Regions from separate parts of the Homo sapiens genome. Here region 1 is linked to region 2. Evidence: promoter capture Hi-C in human tissues and cell types (Jung and others, 2019). All regions are on one chromosome and are shown on one strand. The core of a region is centred on a gene start or on the middle of the fragment in contact, and the rest is flanking DNA. Distances in the headings are between cores, read along the strand shown. Region 1 has its middle 60 kb from the start of LINC03111. Region 2 holds the start of MC4R (melanocortin 4 receptor).

What was found. The method cuts DNA at HindIII sites, captures the fragments that hold promoters and counts their contacts. A contact is called where the count stands out against the background at its distance.
Region 1: a contact is called between a fragment that was not itself captured here and the fragment with the promoter of MC4R in region 2, in 2 of the 25 tissues and cell types used here (small bowel and spleen).

What each region holds. Positions count from the first base shown.
Region 1 is chr18:60,061,780-60,068,858 of GRCh38, forward strand. No RefSeq gene overlaps it. Among named protein-coding and RNA genes, the nearest start is that of LINC03111, 60 kb to the right of the region's middle. RefSeq lists enhancers at 4,683-5,219, 5,539-6,090. The HindIII fragment of the contact is 4,514 bases long and covers 1,794-6,307 here.
Region 2 is chr18:60,371,361-60,378,705 of GRCh38, forward strand. It overlaps MC4R (melanocortin 4 receptor), which reads right to left and starts at 1,415. Exons shown (of 1, transcript NM_005912.3): 1 at 1-1,415. The coding sequence starts at 989. The HindIII fragment of the contact is 8,670 bases long and covers 547-7,345 here.

The sequences.
Region 1 (7,079 bases), core at 2,801-5,300, 310 kb before region 2:
AAAAGAGTTTCCATGTATTTAAACTTGACTTTGGAAGTATTGTTTGTCCTGTGGCCCCAGTGCCTATAAAGTTTGATAAGATAGGGTAGTGGGATGGGAAAAGATTTGCTCAGTCTTAAAGAACTTGTAAAAATTCCCCAGTCTACATGTGGAAGGTAGAATATAGAGAAGGATCCTGGGATTGATTTAAGGAGTGGGCAGAGAATAGCTGCAGACCGTGGAGCAAAAGGGAAAATGAAAAGCATCCTTGGCAAATGCAGTGTTGGGAACCAGAGACAGAGTAAGATGGCAGCATGACATTTCAGCTGTGTATATTTCACCCCTCAGTTCACCACCCACAGTTCCCAAGCCCTGTGCTAACATCTTTACATGTATTGACTTACAACAATCAATGAAATACATATATTATTATGCCCATTTCATCACCCCTTAACACCCATATAAATGCTTTCTCCAGATGATCTTCTTGTTTATCTTCTTGGTCCTCTTTTCTTTTCTCTTGTCTCCTTGTTCTTTTATTCACCTGACCTTTTAATTTTCTCTGATTCTTACCTGACTGAATCCTCAGGCCAGTATACTGACAACCTCTTGGACATGTGCTTTAGGACTGCTAACTGTGGCCCATATCAATTGTATTAGCCAGGGTCAATTATGGAAGCAAAAACCCTCTGAAGGTTATGGCTTAGAGATGTATTATTGGGATAAAACCTTACTGGCAAAGTGGGGAAATAAGGTTCCAAAGAGGGAATTGGAGGATCAAAGAAAAGTTGGTAACCAGCTCTGAAGCATGGCATGGGAGGACAAGTCAGAGCTTGCAAAAACTCTGGGAAGCCAGGCAGTTTTGCTGGGATGGGATCATGTTGCTTCTGTGTCTGGTGGTGGTTCTTGGGTCGCTCTTGAACACAGCCTGGCAACTGGGAAGAAGAGCTGAAGTGGAGGAGAGTGAGACGACCTGGAATCTATTGGTACCTCTGCTTTGTCTCTTGCTATATCTACCACATTGACCCTATGGAGTAATGGCTGCTACTTCACTTCTGGCATCCAAATCTCACTCAGAATTCCTTGTCAGCTAAGTCTAACTTACGGTTCTGATATGGTTTGGCTGTGTCCCCACCCAAGTCTCATCTTGAATTGTAGTTCCCATAATCCCCACGTGTGGTGGGAGGGACTCGGTGGGAGGTAACTTAATCCTGGGGGTGGTTTCCCCCATGCTATTCTTGTGATAGTGAGTAAGTTCTCACAAGATCTGATGATTTCATAAGGGGCTTCCCTCTTCACTTGGCTCTCATTCTTCTCTTCCTTGCTGCCATGTGAAAAAGGATGTGTTTGCTCCTTCTTTCACCATAATTGTAAGTTTCCTGAGGTCTCCCCAGCCCAGTGGAACTGTAAGCCAATTAAACCTCTTTCCTTTATAAATTACCCAGTCTCAGGTATGTCTTTATTAGCAGTGTGAGAACTGACTAATACAGATCCTATAGGGAAAGAGTTCTGGGAAGTTTGGTTTCAGCCCAGCCAAGTTGATGTAGTGCAAAGTACTACACTATTTGACTCTTATTTTTTCTCATCTCTAATTTTAATGCACCCAGAGCTCTAGGTAATAGATGCTCCTGTCCCCAGGCTTTGCCCTGTGGGACCCATACTCAGGCTATTCAGTAGGGAAATTGGGCAATGTGGTTCTGTTTATGAATAATGATTGTTATATAACTTATCTTGTTTTCCTTGATTCCTTGACTTCCAGGGAATTCAAATCAAACTTTTTTTGCCACCAAACAATAAGTATCTTAAGACTCTCCCACCTTTTTCTTTTTCAGTGCTTTCATCTTCATTATTCTTCTTCATAACATGGCTCCTGTTTATTTATTTCGCATATTTTAAAATAAACATTTAAATACATACATTAAGTATCTTTATATTTTAAAATGCTTTACTTTTTAAAGAGGAAACAATTACATAAATAAAATTTCCAAAAGTAGAAAGTGAATATACATTGAGAAGTCTCTCTCTCTCATTCCTGCCCCTATATATTGGGTTTTTGTTCCTGCATGCCTTGCTGATCTTGCCAGAGATTTTTCTTCTTTGAGACAGGTCTTGCTATGTCACCCAGGCTGGATTGTGCAGCCTTGAACTCCTGGGCTCAAGCTATCCTCCTGCCTCAGGCTCCTTATGCCAGAGATTTTTTAATGCATATAGAAGAAAACAGAAATTTATCTTATTTTCATCCCTTCTTTACATAAATGGTAGCATTCCAGGTACAGTGATCTATGCATTTTATTTTACATGTAACTATAAATATGTATACAACCATGAGAGATTTTTCTAAATAAATGCACATAAATACATAAGACCTTTCTCTTCTTTTGGGAGTAGATAGAATAGTAGATAATAGTAGATAGCAGAACCACAAATTGATGAATGATGAACCAACTATAAGCTATATTCCAAAGTTCAATCAAAATAATTACTGTGTCATCTGTTGTGTTGGATGGTATATATTATTACTTGCCTTCTTAATCCTCACAATGAAATTGGCCCCATTTTAAATTCTGGAATCAGTTTATTTACTCATTGCTTTAGGCTTACTCATCACCCCTCAGTTTACCACCCACAGTTCCCAAGTCAATCCTGAATGATGTGAAAACCATCTTCACATTAATGGTTAATGGTCTTGAATGACTCAATCTGCTGTAGGCACAATTGCCAGTGTGCCTGGGGTAAATCTGCAGAACCAAGGAAGCATAGGCTTTCCGTGTTGCTCATCCATGACTGAGATGCTGGCTCAGGCCCTCCATTTGTCCTCCAGTTAGTCCTCTCTTTAAGACTGGATCTCTGTCTTGAAAGCCTTCCATATTTTCCCCTAGTTAACTTTGACAATCTTTTTCTCAATGTTTGCCTGAATTATCTCTATATTTTCAGCTGTGTACTAGAATCCGGTTCAAAATAGATCCTCTTGGAATCACATTGTTTACAATCCCTTTCCTATGTCTTATCACTACATGGAAACTCTTGTTGCCATATCTCAGATAGTTGATTCAACCCCCCATGCACACTGCTAAGTTAAATCTAAATTCACTATTCCACTATGAATACTCTAGTGGAATCTTATTCACTATTCCACTATGAATTTAAATTCACTATTCCACTATGAATATTCTAGTTTGTACTATAATGATTTGAATGGAGAAATTATCACTAAAACTAGTTCAACAGCTGGGTGTGGTGGCAGTTACCTGTAATCCCAGCTACTCAGGAGGCTGAGGCAGGAGAATCTCTTGAACCTGGGAGGCAGAGATTGCAGTAAGCCAAGATTGCAGTACTGCACTCCTGCCTGGGCGACGGAGTGAGACTCCATCTTAAAGAAACAAACAAAAAACCAAACCCCCCCCCCCGCCAAAAAACCAAAAAAACCTGAAAACTAGTTCAAGTTCTCTGTTCTTGGTCTTCTAGATCTGTTTTCTTTACATTTTCCTTTTAGTCTGGCACACCATGAAACCAGGCACGCCTTACTCATCAAATTTGAATATGTGTTGTGTTTATTATTTTTGTGGATCAGACAGTAGAAGAAATATTGTTGAACAACCTAGTTGCATTAGGGTTAAATAAAAAATTTTAAAAGAATATGTAATTTTACTGACTTTGAAATCTGTAGAAAGTATTTCAAAGAGAAAAGTAAAACTAGCATAGAGTTGTTTCTCAGATCACTGGCCAATGAGTTGCAGGGTGGCTTTAATAATACTGGTGGACTCTTTCTTGGATTACAAAATTTTGACGATTACAGCTGGCTCTTCTCTGATTATACTTTCAAAGACATTCACTCTATTTCCTTTTAAATAATAGATGAACTGTATTAGAAAAGAATTACTCTGAAACTAAGGTACCTATTAATCCAGGGGTGTCCAATCTTTTTGCTTCCCTGGCCACATTGGAAGAAGAATTGTATTGGGCCACATGTAAGTAAAATACATATAACATTAATGATAGCTGATGAGAAGAAAAGATTGCAAAAAAATCTCATAATGTTTTAAGAAAGTTTAGGAATTCATGTTGGGCCACATTCAAAGCTGTTCTGGGCTGCATGTAGCCTGCAGGCCATGGGTTGGACAAGCTTATATAAATCAATTTCTTTTCCAAGTCTTTCAAAAACCTCACAGTCAAAGTGAGGTTCACCTCTTTTGACAACATCTTAAAAATAGAAACATTGTCAGACCTGGTGCAGTGGCTCAGACCTGTAATTCCAACACTTCGGGAAGCTGAGATTCGAGCCCAGGAGTTTGAAATCAGCCTGAGCAACATGGCACAACCCCATTTCTACAAAAACAAACAAACAAACAGACAAACAAAACACAAAAATACAAAAATTAGCTGGGCATGGTAGAGTGTGCCTTTAGTCCCAGCTACTAGAGGGTTGGCAGGGGTAGGAGGTTGTGCCGGGATGGGAGAATCCCTTGAGCCAGGAGGTCGAGTCTGCAGTGAGCAATAATCACACCACTGCACTGCAGCCTATGTGACAGAGAGGGACCCTGTCTCAAAAAAAAAAAAAAAAAAAAAAAAAAATTACATGATACATTTTAATTGCAGATAAATACTGTATCTGGCGGGCTTAAGTCTATCAACTGTTTATTGCACAAGAATAGCCCTAACTGATGAAATATTTATGTGGTATAGTCACAGATACTATTAAATAGGGATTTATTTTACAAGTAATTTAAACATCAGAATCATGAAATCAGAGATAGTAACATTACAGGAAAGGGGTCCGGGTCCAGACCTCAAAAGAGGGTTCTTGGATCTCGCACAAGAAAGAATTCAGGGAGAGTCAGTAAAGTGAAAGCAAGTTTATTAGGAAAATGAAGGAATAAAAGAATGGTTACTCCATAGACAGCAGGCCTGAGGGCTGATGGTTGCCCATTTTTATGGTTATTTCTTGTTGATATGCTAAACAAGGGGTGGATTATTCACGCCTCTCCTTTTTAGACCATAAATGGTGACTTCCTGACATTGCCATGGCATTTGTAAACTCTCATGGCCCTGATGGGAGTGTAATAGTGAGGATGACCAGAGGTACTTTCGTGGCCATCTTGGAGATTTAGCCGGTTTCTTTACTGCAACCTGTTTTATCAGCAAGGTCTGTATCTTATGCTGACCTCCTATCTCATTCCGTGATTTAGAATGCCTTTACTGTCTGGGAATGCAGCTCAATAGGTTTCAGCCTCATTTTATGTAGTTCCTATTCAAGATGCAGTTGCTGTTGTTCACATGCCTCTGACAGTAAGGACCAAGGATTTTAGTTGAAATGCAATAAAAGCACATGGCTCCATGCTTATATTTCACATTATCCTCTAATTAATTGTACATGAAGTTGGAGAATGATGTGTGGGAATAAATTGATCTACTTTGTGATTTTCCCTAAAATTTTAACTTAATTGTAGCTAACAGGTATTTTATCACATATACCATTTGTAGCAGACTGTTTCCTGTAATTATTCAAAATATGATTTCCCTCTTTATGCCCATAAAATGGAGAGATAAAAGTGATTTTTCTTAAAAGGAGGCTTAGAATGTACAAAAATGTACCTTTCTTATTCAGTGCTCTGAAAGGAGGCATTTTCTTCATTAACAGCATAAAATTATAATTCAAGGAGGAAATCTGATACAATGATTTAGAAGTAAAAGAAGCACATTGATTCTCCAAATCTTTAGCTTTTTGTTAGCACTCTTATAATTGCTGTTAAAAGAGCAATTTAGCTCTTAGAAGTGCTGGGAGATAATGCCTTTGTTAGCTGAGAGGCAGGAGAATGCAGTCAAATGGTGACTGTGAATTAGTCTAGGCAGGTTTCTGCTAGCAATCCGGGCTGTATTCAGGTCTGGCTTTGGAAACTCATTGCATCTCAGGTTGCCTATTCATTCACAGGGGAAGGTTGGCTTCATGGGGCAGCCGTGTTGGCACTCTTGGAAGATACAGCTGAAGTGCACGGGGCTTTTTCCTCCTAGGTGCTGACTGAGTGCAAAATTGCAGGCTGTGCTTGGACCACACAAATGCTCGTTCTCACAGCAACCTCTTGTGTGTTCTGAGTCTAGCTTCTATATAAAACCTCAAAGTGTGTGACTGAAATCCTGCTTGGGGAAGAGAAATGTCAAACAAAGATTACATGGAGAGAGTAATTTATAGAGTGGCTGCAGATGGGAGATGAATACAAGTGAGAGAGCCATCGTGGATTTCCTCCAAGGTTAGAAGTGATGACTCCGGAGATCAGACTCCAGGTCACCTGCTCTGCTCATTATGCGCTGGATCTGTCGGAGGCATCTTCTGTTGGAGGCTTAGTCACCTTCTCTTAGTCAAGTCAATAATTATTTTCTTCAATAGATGTTTTATATGCAACAGATAGTTTCTAAATGCCCAGCATTGAGATGGTTGCTGTTAGGAGATAACAAAGAAAAATCAGGTGCAGCATCTAATCTCAAGCATCTTGCAAGACTATTGAAGAGATAAGACAATTAAAATATATGAAAAGACAGCTTGTAATACAATATTTAAATGAAGTTGTGATAGATGGAGCACACCACAGGAATTTAAAGAGATAAGTGTTAGTTAGATGAATTTTTTTTTTTTTTTGAGAGGGAGTTTCGCTCTTGTTGCCCAGGCTGGAGTGCAAAGGCGTGATCTTACCTCACCACAACCTCTGCCTCCCAGGTTCAGGTGATTCTCCTGCCTTAGCCTCCCAAATAGCTGGGATTACAGGCATGTGCCAGCACACTCGGCTAATTTTGTATTTTCAGTAGAGACGGGGTTTCTCCATGTTGGTCAGGCTGGTCTTGAACTCCCAAGCTCAGGTGATCTGCCTGCCTCAGCCTCCCAAAGTGCTGGGATTACAGGTGTGAGCCACCATACCTGGCCTAGATGAATTTTAAGAGATGACTTTATGGGACTAACCTCTGTACTTTACAGGATGGATGGGATTTGTGTGTGAAGATGGGGTGAGTAAATAGGGTAGTTGGGTCAGCCCAGCCCTAGTTGCCCTGTTCCCACTTCCCCACATTCCAGCCCACTGATCTTGCCTCCTACGGACTCAGCTTTAACCCAG
Region 2 (7,345 bases), core at 165-2,664:
CTAGACAAGTCACAAAGGCCTCCCAGGGGATAGCAACAGATGATCTCTTTGAAGGTTTTCCTCAGTTCTTGACTCCGGAGTGCATAAATCAGAGGATCGATGATTGAATTACACATGATCAGTATGAGATACAAGTTAAAGTGAGACATGAAGCACACACAATATGGATTCTGAGGACAAGAGATGTAGAATATTAAGTGGAGGAAGAATGGGGCCCAGCAGACAACAAAGACGCCAATCAGGATGGTCAAGGTAATCGCTCCCTTCATATTGGCACCTTGGCGGATGGCACCAGTGCCGGGGAGGACAGCAATCCTCTTAATGTGAAGCCTGGCCATCAGGAACATGTGGACATAGAGAGAAGCCATGAGAGCCAGCATGGTGAAGAACATGGTGATGAGGCAGATGATGACAGCACTACTATCTGAGTAAATGATGAACAAAATGCCTGAAACCGTGCAAGCTGCCCAGATACAACTTATGATGATCCCAACCCGCTTAACTGTCATAATGTTATGGTACTGGAGAGCATAGAAGATAGTAAAGTACCTGTCCACTGCAATTGAAAGCAGGCTGCAAATGGATGCAAGCAAGGAGCTACAGATCACCGAGTCAATGACATTATCAATATTCACTGTGAAACTCTGTGCATCCGTATCTGTACTGTTTAATAGGGTGATGACAATGGTTTCTGATCCATTTGAAACGCTCACCAGCATATCAGCCACAGCCAAGCTGCAGATGAAAAAGTACATGGGTGAATGCAGATTCTTGTTCTTGGCTATTGCCACAATCACTAAGATATTCTCCAACAAGCTGATGACACCCAGAGTCACAAACACCTCAGGAGAGACAAAAAGTTGCTCGTAGCACCCTCCATCAGAGTAGCCTTTTCCAAGGGACTCACTGGCATTGCTGTGCAGTCTGTAACTGCTGCGGTTCCAGAGGTGCAGAGAAGTGTGCATCCCACGGTGGGTGGAGTTCACCATGCTGGCAGGAGAATTCCAGTGTCCCCCTGAATTGATTTAACCTCCTGGGTCAGGGAGTCGTCTCAGTTATTTCCTCCAAGTCTTTATCTGTCTGAAAGTTGTGAGGCTAAAATTGCCATGCCTGCTGTGAGTAAATGTCACAAGTCCAGAGCTTGACATGGAGTTTTTAGTCTCTTTTAGGTACGACTCTAATCATCATCACTTTAAAATCTTGGGCTTCAAAATATTCATTCTCAGTTGAAAGAGTCTGCTCTTTGCTTTCTTGTTCTCACTTCTGCTTTAACTTTAATCTTATGCATTCAAGTCTGTTCAAAATAATTTTCCTTGAAGCTGCCATGCCATTGGGAGACGAATCTGTGCGCACATGCTCACATCGGCTGCCTCTCGGAAGCTTCTGTTTCCAGCCTGAGCGTTGCTTTGAGTGTTAGGGGCTGTAGGCGCCAGCTGCTGATTTTTATGATGTGTGGAGAGAAAAAAAACATGTTCACGGTGGCTCCTCCTCTGCTTCCTTCTGACCAATCCCAATGCAATGGGAGTCTGTGAGACAGGATTATGTTTCAGAGACACAAATTGCAGGGTGACACAGATTCAGATGCAGAAGCTCCTGAAGTCTGAAGTCGAGAAGCAAGCCGGATAAGAGACTGAATTTCCCTTTTTAAGTTTTCAAGGGAAACAACTTGATCCCTAGAGGCCATTCTGTGATATCAAAACAAGCTATCTTCAGGCAGCCAGGTTCATTCTTATGTAAAAGACATCATGTGTGTGTGTAAAATGAAATGGAAAGTATACTGTCTTATGTTCCTGAAACAGATACTCTGCTTTTTGGCTAGGATACTGAATTTATTTACCTTCTTAATTTTTTGTTTTTATTAAGAACCCAGCCAGTAGTGGTTCAGTTAAAATACCTGAAAAACAGAGAGGATATTTAATGATACAGATAGACATGGTATGGCTGGAAGAACTATGTAGGTAGCTATAAATTATGAATGGGTTCAAAAGGGGTTGATTTTAATGCACTAATATCCCATATTTCTCTATTGAGGAGTTTGTGTTATAGCTGAAAAAAGGTGCTTTTTATTTACAATATTTTAAACTCATACGGCATTAATGTAACTATGCTTACACTGAACTCAGGAAAATAATAAGCTGCATTCTGTTTTTTTTTTTTAAGCAACTTTTTTTTAAACCTCCAGAGTTTAACGTATCGTAAGTTGAACCGACAAATACCTAGTAACTTTACTTATCAAGCCAAGACTGGTGATACTAGTTAGTTATTGAAGTTTCTGAATATTTTGCTTAAGGTGGTTTGAAAGATGGCAGCAAAGTTACTTTCCAAATTAACTGAACAACAGATTATACAAAATTTTGTATATTCTTTTCTTCTATGATTATTTTTGGTTTTAGTGCTCTATAGTTTGTAGCTGCTTATTTCAGGGTTAATTCTGAATCTCAGTTACTTAGGTTGGGAATGTATCCTCTTTCCTTTTGTGACAGAGACAATACTAAGTATTGTTCCTGAGCATTGAGATAAATTAACGTCTTCCATCCACCTTTGGAATTGGGTAGGACCTTATGACTAAATTCTAGCTAATGGCATGTTGACAGTGGGGCTCATCGCATTAGCTCTTTCATAATTTTACACAAGTTTTCTCTCCTGTCTTTGAAATCTCATGTTACAGGTGGCAGGACCATATCATGAAAGGAGCCTGTCTCTTGAATGATTGCACAGAGCAGAACTCACACCTCCAACTCCCTTCCCCTGTATTTCTGAATGCCTAATCATCTGTATATTGTAAAATGCTGGAATGGGCTTTCCTGAACATCATGAGCTGGAAATAATCTTACCTTCCTCTTGCCTTATTTTTTCTCTTTTTAAAAATTGACATATAATTCACATACCAAAAAAAATCACCTCTTTAGTAATTAAATGGATTTTTGGGGGAATATATTCACAGAGTTGTGCCATAATCATCACTTTCTATTTCTAAAACATTTTCATTATCCCATTAGCAGTTGCTCCCCATTTTACCCTTTCCTTATCCTCTAGGAACTGCTAATCTACTTTCTGTCTCTATCAATGTGCCTATTTTAGACATTTTATATGATTGAAATAATGCAATATGTGGCCTTTTGTGGCTCACTGTTTTCATGTAGCATAATATTTTCAAGGTTTGCTTACACTATAATGTGAATCAGAATTTGATTTTTAAAAAATTAAAACAGGATCTTGCTCTGTCACCCAGGCTGGAGTGCAGTGGCATGATCATGGCTCACTAGGTTCAAGTGATCCTCCTACTTCAGCCTCCTGAGTAGCTGGAACTAAATGTACCTCCACACCCAGCTAGCTTTTAAAAAATAATTTTGTAGAGATTGAATCTCATTATGTTGTCCAGGCTGGTCTCAAACTCTTGGGCTCAAACGATATTCCCATCTCGGTTTCTCCAAGTGCTGAGATTACAGGCATGAGCCACTGTGCCCAGTTTTGATTTGTTTTTATGGCTGAGTAATATTCCATTGTATGTATACATTTATATATATATATATTTTTTTTTTTTTTTTTTTTGAGACGGAGTCTCGCTCTGTCACCCAGGCTGGAGTGCAGTGGTGCAATCTCAGCTCACTGCAAGCTCCGCCTCCTGGGTTCACGCCATTCTCCTGCCTCAGCCTCCCAAGTAGCTGGGACTACAGGTGCCCGCCACCGCACCTTGCTAATTTTTTGTATTTTTAGTAGAGACGGGGTTTCACCGTGGTCTCGATCTCCTGACCTCATGATCCGCCCGCCTCGGCCTCCCAAAGTGCTGGGATTACAGGCATGAACCACTGCACCTGGCTGTATACATTATATTTTTAAATGTATTCATCAGTTGAGGAACATTTGGGTTATTTCCAGTTTTGGCTATCACGAATTATGCTGCTAGGAATATTTATGGACAAATTCTTATGTGACAGATGATTTCAATTCTTTTGGATACACAACCAGGAATGGAATTGCTGAATCATATGATAACTCTGTTTCTTGTTTTGAGGAACTGCCAAACTGTTTTCTGAAGTGGCTGCACCATTTGACATTTCCAGTTAGCAATGTATGAGGGTTCAAATCTCTTCACATTCTTGCTAGCACTTGCTATTGTCCATCTTTTTTATTTTAGCCATCATAAGGATATGAAGTGAACTCTCATTATACTTTTGATTTTCATTTCCCTAATGCCTAATGATACTGAAGATGATTTTACATCCTTACCAGTTACTTGTGTAATAATCTTTGGAGAAATGCCTATTCAAATCCTTTGCTCATTTTTAATTGGATTTTTTTAAATTATTGAGTTGTAGTGGCTCTTTACATATTCTGGGTACTTTTGCCATTTCAATTATTGATAGTGTTCTTGAAACCACAAACCTTTTAATTACGATGATGTTAAATTTATCAAATTTTTTTGGTTGCCTGAGCTTTTGGGATCATATTTAAAAAAGGATTGCCTAACCCATGGTTATTAAAGTTTACACTTATATTTTGATATCTTCTGTTTGATGAGAAATTGTTCTCATAATTTCCTTTAATTTTTACGTATAGTTTTCGCTAATCCTTTGAACATGTTTGAACTGATTTAAAGGCTTTATATATTAAGTGCAACATCTAGACTTCCCCAGGAATAATTTCTGCTGACTTCCTTTTCCTAATGTGTATGGGCTATATTTTCTTATTTATTTGCCTGCATTTTATTTATTCATTTTTGTTAGAAACGGGGAATTTTGAATAACACAATCCAGCAACCCTGAAAATCAGATTTTCTCTCTTACCCAGGGTTTGTTGTTGTTGTTGTTTGTTATTGTTGTTGTTCAGTAATTTTTCTTAAATAATTCTAGAATGTCTGTATTCTTTGTCTTGTATGATCAATGAGGTCTCTGCTCTGATAGCTTATTGGTCAGCTGATAAGTGGACAGAGATTTCCTTAGATGTCAGGAACTAACATCTCCCCTAGTCATTGCTGAGAGACTCTGTGTCCATGATGGGCATGCCTTTGACACTTAGCCAGGCACTGGGCAACTCTGCCTTGGCCTTACCTTCTGCTTACACACAGCCACAAAGGTCAGCCAGAGGTGAGAAGTCAAGACCTTCTTAGTTTTTGTTGTTGTTGTTGTTGTTTCTGATCATAAGCACAGTCCTGCATGTTTGTACGGCTTTCTAGATTCTCAGGAATATATTAGAGTTTTAATAAATTCCTATGGACATCTCATTTTCTTGAGCTTTTTCTTTTAGGCTTTTTGAATAGCTGATTTTTTTTCGCCAACTTCTATCCATTGCCTTAGGCAGCCATGATGTTAAGCAGTTGTTCTGATTGTTTCCAACAAATGTCCCTGAGGAAAAGACTGTTCTCCGTGGGTGAGTTCTGAGTTAGGTCAAATAAGAAACCCCTGCAAGTAGAGTTTGTCAGGAAACCAACAGATAGGTCAAAATAATGATGGCATCTCTGGTAACGGGAATGGAGCTTTGAAGAAGATCCAACCCCATTTTGCACCCTCCATTTCCTGCTAGACTGATGCTTTTAAACATTTTTATAGGATGTTAGTTGTCAAAGCTACTGCAGAGCTGGTGAGTTTGGAATGGGAAAATATGTCTAGTTAAAATGCTGCAAGTTTCACTCTTCTTACTTCAATTTAGCCATTTTCCTGAATAAATTTACCTTGGGTTATTTGAAGTATTGGTCAATTTTCAGAGTTCTGAAAGTGTTAATCCTGACAAGCTTTGCAAGTGCTCTAGTTGTTTTAACCGATGAGAGAATTTTCAATCATCCTGATGCTCTCATTTCCACTCTCATCTTCCATCTATTGCCTTTTATCTGAAAAAAGATTAAATTATATTAGATTCATCTATGGCAATTTTCTTCCTTAACAGACTATCTAATAAATGATCAAATAGTTATTTCATACTTATTCTAAATCCTATATAAACATTGCATATAAAAACAGAATAAAAGAACTGGTTAAAAACTTGAATAAAATAAAAATGTTAATTTAGAAATAATAGGTGAAATTAGTAATAAAGAACAAAATTAATTACTCCCTTAAAATTTTTTTCCCATAAAAATGTTTTATTTATGAACAAAAGGATCACACTGAAGTCCCAGAAAATTACATACCCTCAACATCAAAAATTTAATCACTGGGTGTAGATTTATAAGATCTTTATTGTAAGGTTAATTGTGCTGAAAAGTTGATCTCGAATATGGTATTTTATTTGTCCGCCATGGTTCATATTTCTCTACGAGCCAGAAGAAATACAACCAGTAATATTAGACACATTGATAGTATTTTTGAAAATTTATTTCAGATTTCTTTTGTAATCCTCACAAAATTGAATTAGAGCATAATTTATTTCTGTTCTGAGAGAAAAATCTTGTTTTATATTTTATAACAATAAATGTGAAACATTAATATAGAAAAATGTTTACCAAACTATGATACATGGAACACTGTTTTTAGTTGTTAAGAGTTTTTCCACCACAAAATATTAATGAAAGGGAATGCTCTAATGTCAAATAATTTTTAAAATATTGCAAACTCATTGCCCTCTTGAAGTTTCAGAGTTTACATCAGCAAACAAAGTTTCAGAAATTGCCTAATACAAAAATAAACATTGCTTAACCCCCATATTTCTTGAACTTGTTGGAACATAGAACCCTCCTTCTTCCACTTTTATTTTCAAGTACCTATTACACTCATTTCTGTTATAATGCTTGTTTTGAAATGTAAATTTGTTCCAAACTTAATTCATATATCAGGGAACATTTTGAGCATAGGATAAATTGTGTATTTTTGCCCAGTTTTGTCTAAGAGAGACGGTAGTTGAATGGGGAAAAGTGCATCTGGTTGAACCAAGACACGGGAGCATGCAAAACACACACACCTCAAACAATACAGCTCACTGAGTGTCAGGAGGCACAGCCATCCACAAGTGGTGTTAGAATTTCTTGTGAGAATTTACATAATCATCCTTCTATCACTTTATAACTCATAAGCTACAACCCTTCTGAAACTGACTTCCACAAGCTAACTGCAGATTTTTTAAGTGCTGTATGTATTGCAGGTTTATGTATTTTTAACTATTAGGCATGCTCCTGTTTTAACTATAAGACAATGGGCCTGGTTTTATTGGGTTCTTTTTTTAAAATGTATCACTGATAAAGTTTTTGAGTTTTATGTGCCTAGTGCCATTTTTTCCGTAAGCTCTGTTGTTTTTATTTTTATTTTTTGCATGATTTTTCATAGCACACTGATTTTTAAGGAACATATATATTATGTTACAGCAGAACTAAATGTAACTATAATTTGGAATTTATATTCACTGAATCACAATT